Regions from separate parts of the Homo sapiens genome. Here regions 1, 2, 3, 5, 6 and 7 are each linked to region 4. The links are contacts of gene promoters, found by promoter capture Hi-C in blood cells and fetal thymus (Javierre and others, 2016). All regions are on one chromosome and are shown on one strand. Each heading gives the region's core, a stretch centred on a gene start or on the middle of the fragment in contact. The rest is flanking DNA. Distances are from core to core; before and after follow the strand shown.

Region 1 (2,700 bases), core at 97-2,596, 480 kb before region 4:
CTAAAGATAATCACAAGGAAAATCTACAGGAAAGGAGGGCAAACCTATGGACTAGAAGGTCTCAGCTCTGCTGTGCATCAGAACCCCCGAGGCTTGTTAAAACACAGATTAATGGTCTCACCCCCAGAGTTTCTCATCCAGTAGGTCTGAGGCTGGCTGACAATTTGCACTGATAATTTCCCAGGCTATCCTGACTGCCCCGGAGACCAACTGCGACAGCTTAGAAGAGACTTAAAACACACATCAACTCCAGTAAATGCAGTGGATGGACCTTTAGTGGATCCTAACTCAAACAATCCAAAAATGTTACATTTATGAGCCAATTAGAAACGTAAATGCTGACCAGACATTGGTAATGCTAAGGGATTATTATTAATAGTACAGTTACATAATTTTTAAAAGAGCCCTTGTCCTCTAGGGATACATTCTCAAATGTACAGACAAAACAATAGCATTTCTGGGATTTGTACCAGAATAGCAGGAGAGGGAAGGGGCAGGGATTAAACAAGGTTGGCCACAAGTTGATAATGACTAAAACTGGTGACAGATTCATGAGGCTTCAGTATAATATTTGCTCTGCTTTTGTATGTTTAAAACTTTCCATAATAAAATAATTGTGATTTGAATGTGCCAGTTACATGGAAGCTCCCGGACGGCAGGTCAATGTTTTTCTTCCGCTGTCCATCAGAGCACCTGGCCCATACATGGTAGGTGCTCCACACATATTTGGCAAATGAATGAACAAACCAATAAGGATACGAGTTCACTGAAACCTACAAATGTGGACTCTGAAAGCTTGGGAAGGTTTTGGACCTGGGTCTCAGGGTGGGTGAAGGGCTCCCAAACATCAGGCTTCTCTGGGGCTGAGGCTGGTCGGCCCAGTAGACCAAATAGCCCTTAGAGCAGTCAGAATTTCAGCAGGCACCCACTGGCCCCCTCGCAGATGACAAAACAGATGTCCAGCCACCAGCTGAGCAGCTCCCACTCTGGGATGGGCGCCAGCCAGATCTCAGGTACAGGGCCCTCTGGTCATCAGCTGACAGCTCCTAGACTTTGTAGCCGCTCTGTGAACCCAGGGCCTCAGAGGAGGTGGGGGTGGGGGGTATCCTCCATCCCCTGCTGGGCCCCTCCATGTCTGAGAAACAGTAGGGTATGCCCCTGCAGAGAGGCAGGATCACTTAAAGGACCCTGACATGCCCATTTTGCTTTGTCCTTCAGACTTGCTGAGATCCCAATGCCATATGGGAGGGGCAAGATGTAACAGCCTTGGCATCTTCCTGTGGTTCTCACCCCAGACAGGAATGGTGAGCTGAAATGCTGATGTTAGATGCCACCCTGTGACCCTTTGTACAAGCTCTGAGTCCTCCCGAAAGGCAGGTGTGTGTTGGGGGGTGGGGTGGGGGGTGTGTATGTGTGTGTGTGCATGCATGTGCTCCTGTTGGGGACAAGGGCACTGGGTTTTCTGCTCAGGCCCCAGGTTGGCCTTAGCATTGGGATGAGTGGAGGTGGCAGGCCAAGCAGTCATACGTGGGCTGCAGGCCAAGGGGCATGTCTCCTAGAATCAGGACGGCTTTGGAATAGGAGCAAAGCCAGAGTTGGCTCTTCGGCTGCTGCTCTTAGAGGAACAGAAGAAAAACAAAACAGCTCCTGAGGAGGATGAAGAGAGTGGAGGTGTGGATGTTTGTGAGCCTGGGGACACTGCCTCACCTCCCTCTGTGCCCCCTTCTCCCTCCATGAAGTGAGAATTGGTATTCTCAGGGCCCCCGTCACTCTGTTATCAATGAACACAGGACCAGTGAAACTCTGAAATAAACACCACCCTCCACCCACCATTTTCCAAATTCCTTCATGGGGTCAGATATTCATGCGTTTTTTTGTTTACTTTTAGGCTCTTTTGCAAGCTTATTCAAACTCAAATTATTAATTCAAAACCACTAGAAATATACAAACCCAGCACTCTATTGGGAAACCTATCATAGTCAGCACTCACTGCATGTGTATTTCATGCAAGCTAAGAGCCTTACAGGTGTATCTCATGGGGACCTGCCCTGTAAGGAAGGTTGCTGTGAATTACTATCATTATTCCCATTCTGTAGGTGACAAAATGAAGCCTAGAAGGGTAAGAAAGAAGCCCGCATCCTTAGTCAGGATGCCACCCAGGCAGACTCAGAGCTCTCTGACTCCAAGCCTGCACACCTGCACGTTCCCAGTGCCACTAAGGCATCATCTCTAACTACGAGACAGGTGTGAATGTAAATCCCCATTTCACAGACGAGCAAATAGCTGGAGGAAGTCAGGAGTCACCATCACAGGGCAGCTCCTGGCTGTCTCTGTCTGCAGGCTCATGAGACTGTGTGGCGTATTCTTTGGTCTGCAAAGCTCTATTTCGAAAACCATAATTCTCTCTCAAATCCGAAGATCCAGGTAGGAGAGGCACATATTGGTAAGAGAGATGTTAGAGGTACTAGTTCAAAGTCGGGAAAGCCTGAGCTCAAATCCCACCATGACCACGTCCTAGATGCATGCCACTGGGTGGGCATCTATATCTGTAAAATCTGGCTCATGGCAAGCACCCGATACATTATGGATGTTATTTTGTTTATTATTATTGTTACCATCATCATTATAAAATCGTTCCAACTGCTGCTGAAAAAACGACCGTGTGCTTACACAATGACACAAGCAGAGCCCCCACCTTTG
Region 2 (3,094 bases), core at 136-2,635, 400 kb before region 4:
TTTAAGTTCACATTTAGAATTAAGAAATACATTTTTAAATAACCCTTTGGTCAAAGAAGAAATCAAAATCAGAATTTAAAAAATAATTAGAATTGATCAAAAAAGAAAATATACTATATCAAAACTTATAAGATGTAACTTGAGCAGCAGAGACAAACTTATAGCCTTAATTGTGAATATATTTTAAAAATAAAAATAGAAAGGCTGAAGATTAATGAGGTAAGTATTCATCTTAGAAGGGGGATAAATAAAAGCAAAATAAACCCAAACATTCTGTAACCAGGTCTCTACAGAGCTCAGTTCACCTTCATACCCCCAAATGCAACATGGCCTTCTTCCACCCTGCAAGGAAAGGTCCCTTCCATTCCCAAGGCAATATTTCTCCAAACATGCTAGGCTGTCTTCCAATAGTACAGAGGATGATTTTCAGTGTACTTGGGCACATATTTATTTTACTAGATTTTAAATAATAGCTTTTTCCTACATTTGACAGGTAATGTAGTTTTACATTTATAGTAGTAAAATAAAATTTCCTTTTAAAATTACTTAGTAAGAGGCCAGGCATGGTGGCTCATGCCTGTAATCCCAGCTCTTTGGGAGGCCAAGGTGGGTGGATCACTTGAGGCTAGAAGTTTGAGACCAGCTTGGCCAACATAGCGAAACCTGCCGCTACTAAAAAAAAAAAAATACAAAAATTAGCCAGGCGTGGTGGAACGTGCCTGTAATCCCAGCTACTCAGGAGGCTGGGGCAGGAGAATTGCTTGAACTCGGGAGGCAGAGGTTGCAATGAGCCGAGATCGTGCCACTGCACTCCAGCATGGGCAACAGTGAGATTCTGTCTCAAAAAAAAAAAAAAAAAAAAATTATAGTAAATAAAATTACTTGGTAAGAGGATGAAATTCAAAGGAAAATATTAAATAAGTATATCATATATTATTATTTATAAATTATTATATACATAAATTCTCATTTCCAAAATGGAAATAATATTTCCTGCTTCATAGCATTGTTATGAAAATTAAAGGCCGGGCGCGGTGGCTCATGCCTGTAATCCTAGCACTTTGGGAGGCCGAGGCGGGTGGATCACAAGGTCAGGAGATCGAGATCATCCGGGCTAACATGGTGAAACCTCGCCTCTACTAAAAATACAAAAAAAATTAGCCGGGCGTGGTGGTGGGTGCCTGTAGTCCCAGCTACTCAGGAGGCTGAGGCAGGAGAATGACGTGAACCCAGGAGGCGGAGCTTACAGTGAGCCAAGATCCCGCCACTGCACTCCAGCCTGGGTGACTGAGCAAGACTCCATCAAAAAAAAAAAAAAAAAAAAAGAAAGAAAGAAGAAAATTAAATAAGTTATACACAATATAAAATAATACTTCATGAATATATTACTTGTATAGCATCTGGTACTTACCAAGAACTCAGTTCACGTTAGCTGTTATAATAATAATAATAGTTGAATGATCAAAATTTGGGAAACACTAATCCAAGACTCCAAAAATGAACTCTAGACCAGTGACAATCCCTGCAGGCAAGAGGAAAGTAAAGACAACGGGTCTTCGGGTCTTTGCAGCTCCCCTCTCCCTTTCCACAGCCTTCCTGTCCTGCCCTGTGGGTCTTGCTGCTCTGGGTCTCTGGACCCCACGCTGTCCCTGCCCCAGGCCTGCTCCTGCCTCCCCATCCCCACTCAAACTACAAAATGCAAACTCCTCCAGACCATGGAGCAGAGTGCAGGGCTGATGAGGTTAGAAAGTTGTCCCTTCTCCAAAAGTTTCGTTTAAGACAGCAAAAGCGTTTAACACTGAAAGGGAAACCCCCAGCTGTAGCCGCTGCAGCATCCTAGCTGAGCCCCGGGGCAGAGATTTGAGAGCAAAGCTCTGGGTGCCTCCCAGAGCCTGAGCCCCTCTGCCCAGCCCCACCCTTGGATGGGGAACATGGTTCTGAAGCAACCCAAGGACAGCCCCAGGCTGAGGGTGACTGACCTTTCTGATTTGACAAGAGTGATATCTTCAGGTTCTTCACATCAGAAAAATTTGCAATCTGTCATTTCCAAACCCTCACTATATCATTTTTCCGCCCACTTCAAAGATGTATAGCAGGGTTACTTGGGGCCCCCTCCATTGCAACGTTTTTATTTTCCCTGCATGATTATTGCTGCCCCCGGGAACTCTTCTTGAGGTCCTCCAAAGAAATCCCACAGAAGTGAACCCCACCAGGATGTGATGCATTTCCCATCCGCAGGAGCTGGCTGAGAGCACGCACTTGCTGCAGCCACCAGGGGGAGCTACAGGTTTCTCTTTGGAGCCCCAGAACTCAGTGGCCTGAGTTCCTTGTCATTTGCTAAACAGAGGGGCTCCTGAGACACTAATAGATATGGGACATATCTGTGTAGATCCTATGTACTTCATTGGCTGGTGCACGGGGCTGACAGGCTGCCACTGAAGGCTGCTTCCTCATTTGAGACTCTTAGGTTGTGGGTCATCGTCCTTGACCCCAGGGGGCTTACAGTCTGACTAGGGGGTGGCAGAAGGACCTGTGGACCAGCAGTCAGATGTTTGGGTTCCTTACAATTGTTTGTCAAATGTGTGCTCCCGCTTACTCCAGGAGCCTCACAGGGCTGTTCGTGTGGATGTGTGTGCATGTGTGTATATGCATATGTGTTTGAGTGTGTGTGTTGGCTCAGGTCACCCAGCAGTATGTGGGAGGCTGGAATGTGAACCCACGTCTCCTGCCTCCAAATGCAGTATTGACACGCTGTTCAGTAGAAGAAACAAAATAAGCTGTTGAGTAGAAGAAACCAAAGAAGCTGTTTAGTAGATGAAGGGACAGAAGCCCCTGTTTCCAGGGAAAAGCCCTCAACAGGGTGGAAGGTGACCAGAGGATGGCGTCAACTGCTGAGAGCTGTGTACGTGGCTCTGTGAGGGGCAGGGATGAACACATGAACACACCACTTGCATTTGGCAGTGCAACAGGAACACACAGGCCACAAAACGGAAGCACTGAGGAAGGGGTGTCCATCAGTCCCCTGTAAGGACTGATGGTGGGGAAGGCTTCCCAGAGGACCAGAGGGGACAGCCAGCTTTAGCCAGAAGCCAGG
Region 3 (2,972 bases), core at 8-2,507, 380 kb before region 4:
GCAGACAGCAAAGGGGCAGTCTGATCTTTTCAGTAAACTGGGATAAACCCTACACTCTTTTTACACCATCCCCTCTTCTTGCAGTTATGCAGTTTATTTACAGTTGACTTTTGAACCTAAGTACACGACTTTACATTTATCCCTACCCATTTTTTTTTTTAATTAGCACCAGCTCTTTTCTTATTTCTGAGATATCTTTGAAATCAGCAGCTGATCAATCAGCCAGCCTCTTCCAACTTTGGGTCACCTATAAATCTGCCCAGAGTGGTGGATATCCTCTGCCTCAGATCCAAAAGACAAAAAAAAAAAAAAAAAAAAAAAAAAATAGACAGAGGGCCAGGCCCAGGGACTCATGCCTGCAATCCCACACTTTGGGAGGCCAAGACAGGCAGATCACTTGAGGCCAGGAGTTTGAGACCAGCCTGGCCAACATGGCAAGACCCCATTTCCACATGTAATTTTCTGAATACAAAAATTAGCCAGGTGTGGTGGTGCGTGCCCGTAGCCCCAGCTACTCAGGAGGCTGAGGCAGGAGAATTGCTTGAACTCAGGACACGGAGATGGCAGTGAGCCGAGATCACGTCACTGCACTCCAGCCTGGGCAGAAGAGTGAGACCCTGTCTCAAAAAAATAAATAAGTAAAATAAACAAATAAGCAAAAAACCCAGGAAGGAACTAGGAAACTGCTACCCCGTTTTATACAGGTAAGTAGATTCTCTAGGATAACATGGCAGGGCCCTGACTCTGTCATTTTCCCTCGGGCCACTCCCTCCAACTCCCCCACCAAACGCTGCCAGCCACAAATCCTTCTTTTCAGTGCACTCTGCCTGCTGCTCGGCATGTGCTGTTGACAAGGCTCAAAAACAGAAAGCTTGTTGTTGGAAGGGCTGTATTCCCAAGCAGTGCATCTGTAAGACAAAATGTGTATCTCCAGGGAATTCGTGTTTCTGCTCTCCCTCTCGGCCCCCGCGGCCCTAAGAGGAAGGAGCCGGGCTGTGGATTGGAACAAATCCTCACTGAGCACTGACTGGGCCAGACTCTGTGCTGAGCTGTGCAGGTGCATTACCTCCATCAAAGCCCACGCATCCTCTCTGGTGGGTGCTACTTCCTCATCTTATGGGAGAGGAAACTGAGGCTTGGAGAAGGAAAGGAACTCGCATGCTGGCCGCAGAGAGGAGTGAGTGGCATACCAGAACTGGAGTCTCAGCCCTCACGCAAAGACCACTGGCTTACTCAGCCTGATTACTCAGCAATCGCTGACCTTCCAGCTCCAAATAAGCCATTCTTTCTGCCACATTCATATCATCTTGCCCCTGACAGACGAGTGACTATATAAAACATTCCCGAAACCATTGTTCTTCCTGCTCAGCTGCCATCCCCAGAGGCAGAGGACACCTGGCCTGGTCTCTGGCACCCCGCATACGGGGCAGAGAATGTTGGCCATGTGCCAGGCAATGATGTTCCAAATTACAGTTTGATCAATGCACTCTTCACCTTTTCTCCGAGGCCTGGAGTTTTTAGCAGCTCTAACTCCAAACTTCACAGCACCCAAATCATGTCACTGAAGGAGCGAGCAGAGAAGGCGCCATGTGGCTCACGCACCTGACTTCCTAACCTTAAGCTGGTGAGACACACAGCTCCTGAAAGCTTAACCGGCGCCGTCCTGCTCACGTAAAACAGCCCCGACATCCAATTCCGATGGTTGCAGCTGCGTGGTCTCCCTGAAAATCTGCCACTCATGATTTTTTTAAATGGGGTTTTTCCTTCTTTTCAGGGTGACAAAAGTCTTCCTAATGAGAAATACCAGAGGGTTAAAATTGCCTGGAGCCCTCGCCAGTTTCTGGTACTATGGTTTAAAAGATGACTTTTTATGCTCTGGGTTACAAAACGCTTCCAACAACACCTTTGCTCAGTATTGGATTGAGGCTAAGTTTATTTTTCTGGTGGGGAAATCAATCCTTGAGCTGTGTTAAAACAATCAGCAGCTCCAGTCATGACATCACGATTCAAATCGTTCTTCCTTCTTATGTATCAACTATGCTGTCGAATGTGGAAACATGAAATCTACAGTTTGCTGGAATCATCTGGATTGTTTAAACTGTATTTCTTAGGCAGAAAGAAAGAATCATTCTTGCAACCTATACCCCTTCCCCCACCCCACCATGCAGATTTACTTCATATTTATTATTTTTTTGTTACAATTAACAAAAGGAGAAACCCATTTGCTGTTTTTTTTCCCGGGGATTTAGAACAGAAACTTCTACCGCCAGTGGCTTGTGATTCCACCCTCCACCCCTCGCTCTCTAGAAGTTTCTGAGGTCTAATTTTTTCTAACAGAGGCTTTGTCTGTAGTGAATGAACCCTGGCTACAAAGTCGGCTTAATTAAAACAATGGCATTCCAGAGACAATAGGGAACAAGGTGCCGGCTTCTGTGCTGGGTGCTAACCCTCGGCACAGCCTTCTGCGGTGACCTTAGTGGAGCTACTCCTGATGCCGTCAAGTTCAGGGACAGGCTGGTCTTCTATTCGCTCGGTTCAAGGCTCTGGCAGAGGAAATCCAGTGTGTGTGTGTGGGTGGGGGTGGGGGGGATGGCATATTCATACCTACACATAATGATCTTCTATTTAAGATTTCTCTGTGCTCCACCACCATAGCGATGGGTGTCAGGCTGCCAATAGAATGAAGAGAAGTGGAGAATCGCGGCCATTGTTAAAATATTTCAGGCTTGTCACCCAAAGTCCCCCAAAAAAACCCTCTGCCTCAAGAATGTGGGTCAGTCAAGATAATCTGCAAATATGAAGAATGTGGGTCAGTCAAGATAATCTGCAAACATGAAGAATGTGGGTCAGTCAAGATAAGCTGCAAACATGAAGATGATACAAGACCATCTCACTGCTTTCCGTCCGGATGCTGAGAGCAGCAGCAGCAGTTCGGTTGCCCTGGTCAGACACCTGGCAGACATCCTGGATCA
Region 4 (2,975 bases), core at 63-2,562:
AGCTGAGCATTCCACTGCACCACTGTTGATGTCATGAGGGTGGTGACCATCAACATTGCAGCCCACAGATGGTGCAGTCCCCGGGATCTTTTTAATTGTTCCAGAGAGTTCCCTAACTAAAGATTGGAGCTGCATCTGTCAGGCAATGTTGACATTCTCATCAAATGATATTTTCATTGGGTTTAATGTTTTTCTGTTTCTTTCTGTCTCCTGGAGGTTCCTTGAGGGCTTTGATGATCAGGGCAGAGGCAGAAGGTACTACCTCAATCTATGCCTGCCTGTTCTGAATGGTTTCACTGTAATCCTCAGATCCTTCAAATCACCGGTTGCCCTAACGATGTCATTACCAATGTGTTTTGGAGACAGACACAGGGGTTTGATCTTAGGGGCCAGCACAGATGTGGCACCAACATCATTCCCGGTGCATCTCAGACTTTAATCTCGTTGGGGTCAAACTTAGGCTGTATGGTGGAGGTAGGTGGTGTTGGATGAACCTGGATTCAGGACCACCAAAGAAAGTTGCACATTGGTCTACTCTGAGCTGAAAATTGAAAGGTGGGGCACCTTTTCTCATGGCAGACACAGGCATAGCTAAGCAAGTCCAAATGCACAAGCACAGGCCTAGCCCCTGCTTGCATCACATCTGCTAATGCCCAGCTGTCTGGAGCAAGTGAGATGACCTACCCTAAAGCCAAGTTCAAGGAAGTACACTCTGCCCACCGTGAGGCCCCAGCAAGGGGGGGTATGCAGCAGGGGAGTGAAGAATTGGGACCAATAATTAGATCCACACAGGATAAAGGTCCTTTGGAAACCATTGAGCTCTGGCCGCATTAGTTACTATGGTTACTGTTACTATTATAGGTTACTACTATTATCACCTGTCCAGAAGACCAGGTACCCTAAGCCAAGTTGTGTCACAGACAGCTCTCAGGAAAGAATCACTTGACTAAACGCCAAAGATCAGGTTTGGGATCTGCAATTCAAAACTGCAGTTTGGGCATAGAAAAGATTAAACGTAGCACAAAACAACAACCACACTATCCTCCCAAAGCCCCTTCCAGGCAGCTCCAGGGCCGGCCCAGCGGATCAATAGCAATCTGGGGTGCTAGGGAGGGCGCCATCTGAGTAGTTCGGAAGAACTGAACATGATGAGTTGCCGGCTGCTTCCTGAGTCCTTGGGGAAGCACACGCACCATCCACTTAGCACTGGAGCCTGGCTGTTCTCCGGGCACTCCTACCCCATCTTCCTGGCGGGGCTTAGATGCTCCTGCCTCTTCCACCAGCTCCTCTTGCCCTGCATGCTTCAGGGACGATGGAGGTCTCGGGGCACCCCCAGGCCAGGAGATGCTGCCCAGAGGCCCTGGGAAAGCTCTTCCCTGGCCTCTGCTTCCTCTGCTTTCTGGTGACCTACGCCCTGGTGGGTGCTGTGGTCTTCTCTGCCATTGAGGACGGCCAGGTCCTGGTGGCAGCAGATGATGGAGAGTTTGAGAAGTTCTTGGAGGAGCTCTGCAGAATCTTGAACTGCAGTGAAACAGGTAGGTGCCTCACCTGGACAGGGTGGGCCTTTTCTCCGTGGTGGCAGCAGTCCCCCAAGAGCAGAGGGCTGCCTTCTAGGAGGCTGGGTCTGGGAGCTGCCTGCCTGGATCCTCCTCATGCCTGGGCACTTTAAGCGAGTAACTTCTTTCTGAACCTCTGTTTTCTCCTCTGAAAAGTGGGGAGACTAACTGCCTCTCAGGGTTGCTGTGAAGAATGCAGGAAAGGCCCTGAGCACCCTGAGGTGCTCAGGAAAGACCAGCTCCCCTTCCTGTGCCTCAGCACCCAGCCCCATCCAGACCAGTGGCCTCAGGGGACGATGGATTACTGGGAATTTGGTGGGGTGGGGTGCATGGGTGAGCAAATCTGGGGCTGGGGTTGGGGGGCTAGCTTGCTTTTCAGAACTATGTCTGCCTGACCCAGGATTCAGTTTGCAGGGATGAGAATTTAGGGAACAACCCAAATTGGATTTAAATTCCAGCAGGAGCACCTGCCACCCACGCCCCCACTTCCTGTTTCAAACTCCTTTTCTGCTGTCTGGCTCAGCGGAGTGGGGAGGTGTTGTGAGAAGACCTGGGGGGAGGGGTGGGGGTCCTGGCTGTTGTCCTGGCTGCTCTCCCAGCTTGCTCTGCAATCCGTGGAGGCAAAGCTTTGTTCTCTCTGGGTCTCAGTCTGCGGGAGAGAAGGGGACCCCCAATCTCAGACTTGGTGGTCACAGGGACCCTGTGAGAAGCAGAGGAGACAAGGAACATTCTGGCTCTTGGAAGACAGAAGTCACTTTATAGTGTCCTCATTGCATTTTCTTCATATTTAGTCACTTGTTTCTACTCTGCTGTGTTCCTCGAAGGAAGCTTGTTATTGTATTCAACAGAGCAAGATAAAACAAGGGAGAGTAGATAAATGAAAAACAAAGGAAAACCAGACACTAAAAGTCAGGAGAAGAATGGGGTGCAGGGAGCCCCTCCCCTCCCACTCTGGTGTGGGGGCTCCTTCCACAGCCCAGACCTTGATTTGGGAACAGGTGCAGCTCCCAGAGACAAGAGGCCAGTCCAGGGAGGCAGAGTCTCCTGTCTGTGGAGGGTCCCACTCCCTGCATCCTTGCCAGACAGACGCCAGCCTGCTCAGTGGACCTGGGAGATTGCTGCCAAAGGGACACTGCACCATCGCAGGGCCTAGACTACCAGCAAGTTCAAGGCTCTCTAAGCCAGCAACACATCAGAATCAACCAGGGAGACTGCCTAGAGTACACATCCCCAGGCTCTTCTCCAAACCCACTTAATCAGGATCTCCAGGGCTGGGCTGGGAATCTTAAAGTTTCAAGGATAAGGCCAAGCATGGTGGCTCATGCCCATAATCCTAGCATTTTGGGAGGCCAAGGTGGGAGAATCATTTGAGGCCAGGAGTTTGAGACTAGGCCTGGGCAACAAGGTGAGACCCTGTCT
Region 5 (2,898 bases), core at 190-2,689, 430 kb before region 4:
GTCCTGTAAGAAAGGGACACTTCTGCCCATCTGCATCTTCAGACAAAGCTGCCCCACAGCCCTCACAGAGACTGCCTGGTCCCCTTCTTGGAGGCATTCAGAAGAAAGTTCATTGCTCCCTCAGTGGTTTTAACTGCCTGGAAATGACATTAAAAATTAACCCAGATTGTCATTTCCTCCCCACAATTCAATCAGCTTGGCATGGCTCATGGGAATCCCATTCTTTTAATCATGTTTCTCTTCAAACTCACTCTTGCTAGGAGTAAGGAATGCCATTCACTCATCTTTGGTTCAAATAATCTTTTACCTACTCTGGCCGCATCATTTAATAACTAACAATTTTGTTGAGACATTTCCTTTAAATAAAATGCTAGGAACTTAAAAAGAAAAAGCTCACACTGGCACCCGTAGGGCCCCCAGGGAACTGCTGGGTTTGCGTCCACCAGTCGACCCCAAAAAGATCCATCAGGCTGACAGCCAAGCCCATCGCGGAGGGGAAGTGGAGACGCAGTCCCCAGGGAACTGAGGAGGGAACGCCTGCTGGGGTCTGCCCCTGCAGTTCATGACCCTGAGATGGGCTAGGGTGGGGAGTGGAGGGCTGCAGGCCTCTGGGGGCTAGAGCGGGGGCACCTGATCTGGTTCTAGCAGGTTCCTGATGAGTCTGCTTCACAGTGTCTCCTCTCCTCATTGGCCTGGAGGAAACAGTGGCCCTGGGGAACGAGGTCCTGAAAAGAGGCAGCAAAGAGGCAACCAGAGGACAAGAGCCTGGGCCACGGAGACTGGAAGAGGCCAGAGGGCTGCCTGGAAGAAGGCTCATCCACTGATTTATTCTCCTTGGCTCAGGCACTGTGTTCATCCCCCTTCCTCCCATCCTGCACCCCTCCCCCACCAGTGACGGTGCAGACAAGCAGCACTGTCCCTGCAGAGCTAAGGCAGAGCAGACAGGAGAGGGTCATCCACCCCAGCTGCTGGGTGGAGGCTTGGCCCTGGGGCCTCGGGAGCCTCCCCAACATTATCTCCCGGCCCCTCCCTTCTCTGCTCCCACTAGCCTCAGCCAGCAAGGCCAGCCCCACATTCCTGCTGCAAACAGACTGGGTGGGGCACAGTGAGTTTTTAATTTGTCCACAGAAATCCAAAACAAGGGAGGGGAGGTTGTTGGTTAACTCTGCACCATCACCAGTGCTTTAAGCCTCTTTGGCTCAGAACCCAGACTCAGAAGTCCAGGCCACAAGGGGGCTTTAACCAAAATCCCAGGCAAGAGACCCCTTTGCTTCTGATGCCGTGTGTGGCTTCATGACAGCATGATGCCATCTGGGCTAATTTACCAAGGGCTCTGTGAACTCTGTCTCTCGGCACTATGTTCCCTAATTGCAGCCTCTTTCAAAAGGGAGTAACTACCTCTTCTAATCACGTGTACCCCCAGTATCTCAGAGGCAGGGCTACAAAAACAGCCTTAAAAAGTTTGGCAGTTCCTCAAAAAGTTAAACATAGAATTATCAAATGGCCCCCCAAGTCCACTCCTAGGTATATATCCAAGAGAACCAAAAATCTAAGTTTACACAGTAACGTGGACACAAGTGTTCACAGCAGCACTGTTCACAACAGCCAAAAAGTAGAAACAACCCAAGCATCCATCCACGGGTGAATGGATCAAATGTGTTCTCTCCATACAGTAGAACATTATTCAGCCATAAAAAAGAATAGAGTACTGATATATGCTACGACATGAATGAACCTTGAAAACATTACGCTAAGTGAAAGAAGCCAGATGCAAAAGACCACATACTGTTTGATTCCATTTATATGAAATGCCTGGAGTAGGCAAATCCATAGAGACAGAAAGCAGATTAGTGCTTGCCAGGGGCTGTGGGGAGGGGGAATAGGAGCAACTGCTAATAGGTACAGGGTTTCTCTTTGGGGTGATGAAAATGTTCTGAATTAGACAATGGTGATGCTTGCACAACACAGTGAATATCCAAAACCCACTGACTTGTACACTTTAAAATGGTAAATTTTATGTTATGTAAATGTCTCAATTTATTTGACCCTGTCTCAGAATAAATATATAGCCTCCACTCCCGGCTGGAGAGGAGTGGTGCAATCATGGCTCACTGCAACCTCGAACTCCTGGGCTCAAGTGAACCTCCTGTCTCAGCTTCTTGAGTAGCTGGGACTACAGGAGCCTGGCTAATTCTTTTATTTTTGTAGAGTTGGGGGCAGTCTCACTATGTTGCAGAGACTGGTCTTGAACTGCTGGCCTCAAGTCATCCTCCCACCTCAGCCTCCCTAAGTGCTGGGATTACAGGTGTGAGCCACTTAGCCCGGCTCAATTATTTTTTTTTAAAGCAGCCTGCTGACATCACCCTGACTTTGGCCTTAGCACAGCCCCCTATTGCAGGGCCAGCTTGTTCCTCTGAGTTATCTTTAACTCCAAGTCTCTGCTTCCTGGGACTGCCCTGCTGTGTGTCACCCTCTGCTTCCTGTGAGCACACTCTCTCATCCACACTGGCCTGACCTGTAGGACTGGACGTTGTGATTCTTGCCCGCTGCAGACTTTCAAAGCAGGTGTGGAAAGTGACATCCAGCACAGCACAGTGAGACACAAACATCGGACCATTCAATACCTCTGTCCTTAGAAGTCCCCTGGCCCAGCCACCACTAGGATCTTCTGACTGACCAATCATCACTTGACCTCCCCTTCCTCCAGCCACAAACCTTCCTGTGAGGTCACTTGGACTCTATGCTGGACCTAGAGAGCCCCCTCTTAGCAATCAGACAAGACTAAGGTGTGGGCTTGGTGGGGTCTTCTTAAGGAATGCTTTCCCCACCCCTTGCTATGGTGTCATCACCAGACCCTCATTCCAGCCAAGGAAACAAAGGCTTAGAGAAAGTCAAGCA
Region 6 (2,899 bases), core at 298-2,797, 450 kb before region 4:
TCTCTACTAAAAATACAAAAATTAGCTGGGCATGGTGGTGCGTGCCTGTAATCTCAGCTACTTGGGAGGCTGAGGCAGGAGAATTGCTTGAACCTGGGAAGTGGAGGTTGTAGTAAGCCAAGTTTGCACCACTGCACTCCAGCCTGGGCAACGAGAGCAAAACTCCATCTCAAAAAAATAAAAAATAAATAAATAATGAAGTAGAAACATGGGCTCAGAGATACTAAACCTCTTGTTCAAAGTCACACAATCAGTGACAGAGCTACGGTCAAACTCAGCCCCCTGACTCCCAGCCCAGCTTAACCCTTGACCCTTGTTGGCCTCTTCTGCAAAATACAAAGTGGAAGATAGCTTGTGCTAGCTGTGATTACTTGGTGATGACTCACTGGGGCATGTCTGCACAGTTGTGTTCTTCCTGGTAGCAAGCCCATGGTCACAGTATTTGCCTGGAGGAGAGGTACAGGCAGCATACAGCTGAGGAGAAGGAGACCAATGACCTAGAATAAGGGTGTTATCTGAGCCAGAGGGCTGAGAGCTTCAACAGCAGTGTCCAAGAGCAATGCTTGCACAAGTCTCCAAAAACCCCAGAGTTAGGAATGCACACTAAGTCACCATCCTCATTGCTACTCTTCTCAGGGAAACCAGCACTTTTCTCAGTGACTTCTGCAAGAGTGAGCCCAAATATTGTCTATCTTTGGGTCACTGGATGTGTTAGTCCATTTTCACACTGCTGACAAAGACATGCCTGAGACTGGGAAGAAAAAGAGGTTTGATGGACTCACAGTTCCACATGGCTGGGGAGGCTTCACAATCATGGCAGACAGTAAGAAGGAGCAAGTCACATCTTACATGGATGGCGGTGGGCAAAGAGAGAGAGCTTGTGCAAGGGAACTCCTCTTTATAAAACCATCAGATTTCATGAGACATATTCACTACACAAGAACAGCATGGGAAAGAGCTGCCCTCCTGATCCAATTACCTCCCACTAGGTCCCTCCCAAGACATGTGGGAATTGTGGGAGCTATAATTCAAGATGAGATTTGGGCGGGGACACAGCCAAACCATATCACTGGGTTCCTGGTGGCAGCCCTGTGGGAGCTGGGACCAGTCACTTGTCCCTGGGCCTCAGTCTCCTCATCTGCAGAGCAGACCCAGCTCCTCTCCCTTCCTCACCCCCTGCTGTCTGCTTTCCTACCTTGTGTCATCCCACTGATTCACCTTGAAGGGCAGCTCCTGAGAAGGACCCTCCCCACCCAACCTATGGTTCCATATATTATGCCACCCCATTTCTCCACGGCACTTTTATAAGAGCCAAGGGTTTCACGTTATAGAGAAAAATGACTTTCCCCTTCTCCAGCCCATAGCCCAGTGCCGAATGACTTTAAATGGCTTTAAAGTCATTTTGCAAATCTGTTTATGGTGAGCCTTCCTCACTTGCTGGGCTCTTCCTACCAGCAGTGGTGAGAATGAACATTTATCAAGCACCTGCTATGTGCTGGGCATTGCTCTGGGAACCTCACATCCATTGCCCCATTTATCTTCATGACCGTGTAGATGAGAGAACTATATTGTTAATGTCCCCCATTTTACAGGTAAGGAAACTGAGGCCCGGAGATCAGGTACTCAGCTGTTGTGACCTAAGAAGAAAGTGGCAGAGGAAGAATTTGCCCCACGGCATTCTGAGCTCAAGAACACGTTTGTCTGTCATGCCTTCATCTGTGTGCAGCAATGTCCCCAGCTCCTAGCGCAGCACCTGGCACATGGCAGGGCCTCAAGAAACGTGTTGAATGAATGAACAAATTATCAAATTAGAAGACAGAATTACAGTTCACAAAGCACCCTTATATCTCTCCTCTCGCTTGACTCATGTAGCGGCACTGAGGGGGAAACATCACTATTCCCGAGTTTTTTAAGATGAGAAAACCAAAGGTCCAGTGAGACCAGGAGCAACCTTGCCTGGAGGTGGATTCTCCATGGGCTGCTTTAGGCTATTTTGTTTCTTTCAGATCTTGTGCTTTATTTAAAAGTTGTGGGCTCTATGTCTAGCGAAGGATGCAGGTCTCTGTTCTGCAGGACAGGGTTTGTTAAAGTTGTCAAGAATAAGGCCTGCTTTAAGAGATACAAAGTGAAATTTAGAAGACAAGAGGGTAAAATGGATTACTGTGCTTGGAAATGCTTGGCAATACAGGATAAAAATAAGTACAACATGCCCAAATACAGGATGATCGCTCACATAACTAACACAGAGAGTGTTTGTCACATTGCTTATGCCTGTATGGAAGGGGATATGATAATGTGTGTACCTTATGCTCATGAGCTACCAAAACATGGTGTGAAGGTTGGCCTGACAAATTATGCTGCGGCACATTGTCCTGGCCTGCTGCTGGCCTGCAGGCTTCTCAATAGGTCTGGCATGGGCAAGATCTATGAAGGCCAAGTGGAGGTGACTGGTGATGAATACAATGTAGAAAGCACTTATGGTCAGCCTGGTGCCTTCACCTGCTATTTGGATGCAGGCCTTGCCAAAACTACTTCTGGCAATAAAGTCTTGGGGGGCCTTGAAGGGAGCACAGATGGAGGCTTGTCTACCCCTCATGGTACCCAATGATTCCCTGGTTATGATTTTGAAAACAAGGAATTTAATGCAGAAGTGCATCGAAAGCACATCATCAGTCAGAATGTCGTGGATTATACGCATTTCCTAACAGAAGAAGATGAAGATGCTTACAAAAAACAGTCCTCTCAATACATAAAAAAACAGCATAACTCCAGGCATGGAGGAGGTGTAGAAGAGAGTAACGCTGCTATGCAACAGAATACAGTCTATGGGAAGAAACCCAAGAAAGAAGTTTAAATAAAGAGAGGGGCCGGGCTCCGTGGCTCACACCTGTAATCCCAG
Region 7 (3,057 bases), core at 340-2,839, 360 kb before region 4:
CCCTAATTAGGCAGAAATGACACTTCTACAACTGACCTGCCAGGACCTTTGGCAAACCATTTAACATCATTAGTTAACATGTTTTAAAAGTGTGAATGTAAATGAACAGCCAGTGGCTTTCAATGGAGTTTGTCGGTGGCATCTCCCCCTCCCTTTCTCAGTCTTTCTCTTTTTACATGAATAGTCCACTTGTTTTCTCCAGAATTGGAGGGAGGCACCAAAGAAGAAGGAGGAAGAGGACCAGTCCTCTGAGAGGAGAGACATGTTAAGGCAAAAATAAGTCCAGAAGAGCGAGAGGCCATCTCTTCCTGCCTTTGTATGGGCCCTCACAGAGCCAATCTCCCAGGGCCACCAGAGCAGGGCAGTAAGACAGCACGAGGCCGGTAGGCTACCCGGATGCTAGGTCCACAATCTGTGCGTGTGAGTGTGGCCAGCGATGATTCTAGGCTTTGGATAGGTGGGAAACGAATTTGTTTCCTGACTCAAGGGTGCCTCTGAAATTCTCTCAAACCTCTTCCCCCTTGCTGGTGTTCTGAACAAGCAGGTTTTGCAGCAGTGGCTTGGCAAACATCTTACACGTGCAGAAGTTTAAACGTCCCAGTTTTAAACATACCTAGTCCCTCTCGACAGGAATGAGGTTCTGGGGCAGTTATTTCAGATGCCAGTTTGATACTTACACACATTAGTTAATTTCCTACCTGAAGCGGCTATTTCCCACCTTGAATCACACTTCATTTTGTTCTTTGCTTTACACCCACAGAATCCGTACACGCCAACACTCTCCATCTGTAGGAGGGGGGAAAAGAGTTGCACTGTGAAAATGTCGATTTGTTTCCATGTTGCTCTTAAGTCGCGTACTCGTGCTGGTTGACGGTTTGTAAGAGGCAGCACCCGGCAGGAGGGAAGCAAAGATTTAGGTGGGCGCAGAGGAGCTGGGTCCCTGGCAGGCCTGTACACTTACCACCTACTTGTTGTGTGGCCTTGGGCAAGGTGCTTAGCCCTGAGTCTCAGATGTTTTCATCTGCAAGACAGAGATAATGCCTTACTACATCAAGAAAGAAAAAATAGATGGAAAATTACAAAAACCAGGAAGCGTTGTGTGCACGTAAGGAGTCGTGGAGAAACAAGAGCTGCCAAAACTGAGGAACGAGGCCCGGTTCTTTCTCCATTTACCTTGGAGAGATGACGCCGAGACTCTGTCCTCTGGTTCCCCAAGGCACATTTGACAGAGCCAATGTACCACCAGCCCATCCCAGGGTACTCCTCGTCCTCTGCCTCCACTCCTGCTTATTCTTAAAAGGGCTGTAGATATTACAAAGACAAGCGACTGGGTGTAAAACAAATTCCTAGAACCCACAGTTACATTAGCTATTCATTCCCTCTGCTGGCTCCTAAACAGTACAAGGGGAAAAGCATATCTTGTTCACCTGTGGATTTCTAGAAGCCCCACGAACACTGGTGGGTACACAGTAGATGCACAATACATGTTTACTAGTTGGAATGCAAGAATTCAGCTTCCACACTTGTGCCGAAAGCAGTCAGGAGTGTGTGCTTTATAAAGGTAGCACAGATCCTAAATTTGGAGAGCTTTACTCATCCCTGAATTAAAGATGAGTAAAATCAAGCCGGCGGTGTGTGGTGGTGAATGCCTGTGAGTAGTCACGAGAGAGGAGCGAAAGAAAACAATCTTAGTTTGGGGCAGAAAGAGAGTGAAAATGCTGGAAAATGTCCTTAATAACAGTAAATGGGGAAAGAGAAAACGGCTCATCATGATGGGGCATTTAGTGCTTTTAAGCTAAATACCTCAGCATATTAAGCAAATAGAGAAAAGCCAGCTAGAAGATGTCAGCAAATTGAACCGAACAGTGCTCAGAAAGCCCATAGGAGGTGTCTGTTTTTGACCCCTTTTCCCATCACATGCCTGGGCCCAGGCTGGTTGTTTAGTGTTGCCTCTCCTCTCCAGCTGCGGAGCTTATTGAAAAGCTCTTGCTCCCTGCCTGGCTTTGGCACATTTTCTGCAGGTGCCTCCTACTGTGGCCACAATGGGCTGCTAGGGAGGTTTAGACCTGTCAACAGCTACAGGGGAGGGGGTGGCAGTGGTGGAGGGAGCATAGTCATTGTCTTAAAGGGCCAGTGACATTGTGTGCCGCCATGGAGCCTGCAGCACTGGCACCTGCTAATGAGATGAACCCTTTCTCCCACTCTCTTTCTCTCTTTAATGATTTAACTAGATCGCTTTGGTTCCTTTCTGGAAGGGGAATTGCTCCATTGATCATATAAAGTAATTGCCTGTAAAACATTGCTCTGCAACAACTACTACTTCCCTGGCTGAAAATGTCACAGCAATTGAAAAGCTCTTAGCCCCGTTCAAGAATGAGGTTGCAGAAGAGAACAGTCTTTGCATACATCCCCAAGTATTTGTGTGTTCCTGGAGTTACAAATTTTTGGTGTGACTGGTGGATTTTTAAGACACAGAATTTCTTCCCTGCTATATGGTATGATTTTAGTGTAGAATTGTGGTAAACGAACCGAACACACACACACACACACACACACACACACACACAAACTCCTTCAACCCTAAAATTACATCTATTCGTTCAGAGAAAGAAATTCTTTTCTTCATCACCCATGCCATTCTTCTCTGAGAGGCCATGAATTTGGAGGGACACCCATATAGGGTCCAGTGTGATTTGGGGAAGGGTCTTCGTTTCTCCTTACAGAAGTATACACTATCTTTATCTAGGAGGTAGCAGGGGCCTTGGTTTGGGAAGGAGGAATTGATGCCTTAATTGTTTAGGATTTGCTGATTTTTCAGACCTGTCACTTGGCGGCGGCAGTGACACACTGTGGGAACGGGGACCACACACTTAAGGAGTTTTCATAAATAGCTTTATTAAATAGTCATTGCCACACCAATGTGAAGGAGTAATTTACCTGGGGATAAATCACTTTGTCACAGACATGAACCTGCCTACAAAATAAAAAACTCTTAGTGATGGTTTCATTTTCCTCCGACAGGTGAAAGTGTAAGTTTATATCTAAATCAGAAAGAAA

Evidence for each region. Contacts are between HindIII fragments. The CHiCAGO score rates a contact against its expected background, and 5 or more counts as called.
Region 1: a contact is called between a fragment that was not itself captured here and the fragment with the promoter of KCNK18 in region 4, in 1 of 17 cell types (endothelial precursors). The highest score is 5.2, in endothelial precursors.
Region 2: a fragment that was not itself captured here is called in contact with the fragment with the promoter of KCNK18 in region 4 in 4 of 17 cell types (M1 macrophages, M0 macrophages, M2 macrophages and 1 more); the score reaches 8.1 in M1 macrophages.
Region 3: a contact is called between a fragment that was not itself captured here and the fragment with the promoter of KCNK18 in region 4, in 5 of 17 cell types (M0 macrophages, naive CD4 T cells, monocytes and 2 more). The highest score is 6.6, in M0 macrophages.
Region 5: a contact is called between a fragment that was not itself captured here and the fragment with the promoter of KCNK18 in region 4, in 2 of 17 cell types (M0 macrophages and monocytes). The highest score is 5.5, in M0 macrophages.
Region 6: a contact is called between a fragment that was not itself captured here and the fragment with the promoter of KCNK18 in region 4, in 1 of 17 cell types (M0 macrophages). The highest score is 5.1, in M0 macrophages.
Region 7: a contact is called between a fragment that was not itself captured here and the fragment with the promoter of KCNK18 in region 4, in 1 of 17 cell types (M2 macrophages). The highest score is 5.3, in M2 macrophages.

Annotation. Positions count from the first base shown.
Region 1 is chr10:116,715,061-116,717,760 of GRCh38, forward strand. The region is part of intron 1 of HSPA12A (heat shock protein family A (Hsp70) member 12A); the gene reads right to left. Among named protein-coding and RNA genes, the nearest start is that of HSPA12A, 26 kb to the right of the region's middle. The HindIII fragment of the contact is 1,106 bases long and covers 794-1,899 here.
Region 2 is chr10:116,794,842-116,797,935 of GRCh38, forward strand. It overlaps a transcript of HSPA12A not described here. Among named protein-coding and RNA genes, the nearest start is that of MIR9851, 31 kb to the right of the region's middle. The HindIII fragment of the contact is 8,639 bases long and covers 1-3,094 here.
Region 3 is chr10:116,814,951-116,817,922 of GRCh38, forward strand. It overlaps a transcript of HSPA12A not described here. Among named protein-coding and RNA genes, the nearest start is that of MIR9851, 11 kb to the right of the region's middle. The HindIII fragment of the contact is 776 bases long and covers 870-1,645 here.
Region 4 is chr10:117,196,177-117,199,151 of GRCh38, forward strand. KCNK18 (potassium two pore domain channel subfamily K member 18) reads left to right here and starts at 1,313. Exons shown (of 3, transcript NM_181840.1): 1 at 1,313-1,535. The coding sequence starts at 1,313. It also overlaps the pseudogene RPL12P26. The HindIII fragment of the contact is 2,593 bases long and covers 1-2,180 here.
Region 5 is chr10:116,766,478-116,769,375 of GRCh38, forward strand. LOC105378498 (a long non-coding RNA gene) reads right to left here. Exons shown (of 3, transcript XR_946339.2): 3 at 2,328-2,898. It also overlaps a transcript of HSPA12A not described here. Among named protein-coding and RNA genes, the nearest start is that of HSPA12A, 25 kb to the left of the region's middle. RefSeq lists an enhancer at 342-907. The HindIII fragment of the contact is 8,201 bases long and covers 1-2,898 here.
Region 6 is chr10:116,747,829-116,750,727 of GRCh38, forward strand. It overlaps a transcript of HSPA12A not described here and the pseudogene RPL5P27. Among named protein-coding and RNA genes, the nearest start is that of HSPA12A, 6.7 kb to the left of the region's middle. The HindIII fragment of the contact is 5,073 bases long and covers 1-2,899 here.
Region 7 is chr10:116,834,237-116,837,293 of GRCh38, forward strand. It overlaps a transcript of HSPA12A not described here. Among named protein-coding and RNA genes, the nearest start is that of MIR9851, 8.2 kb to the left of the region's middle. RefSeq lists enhancers at 1,700-2,335, 1,882-2,176 and a silencer at 1,882-2,176. The HindIII fragment of the contact is 9,058 bases long and covers 1-3,057 here.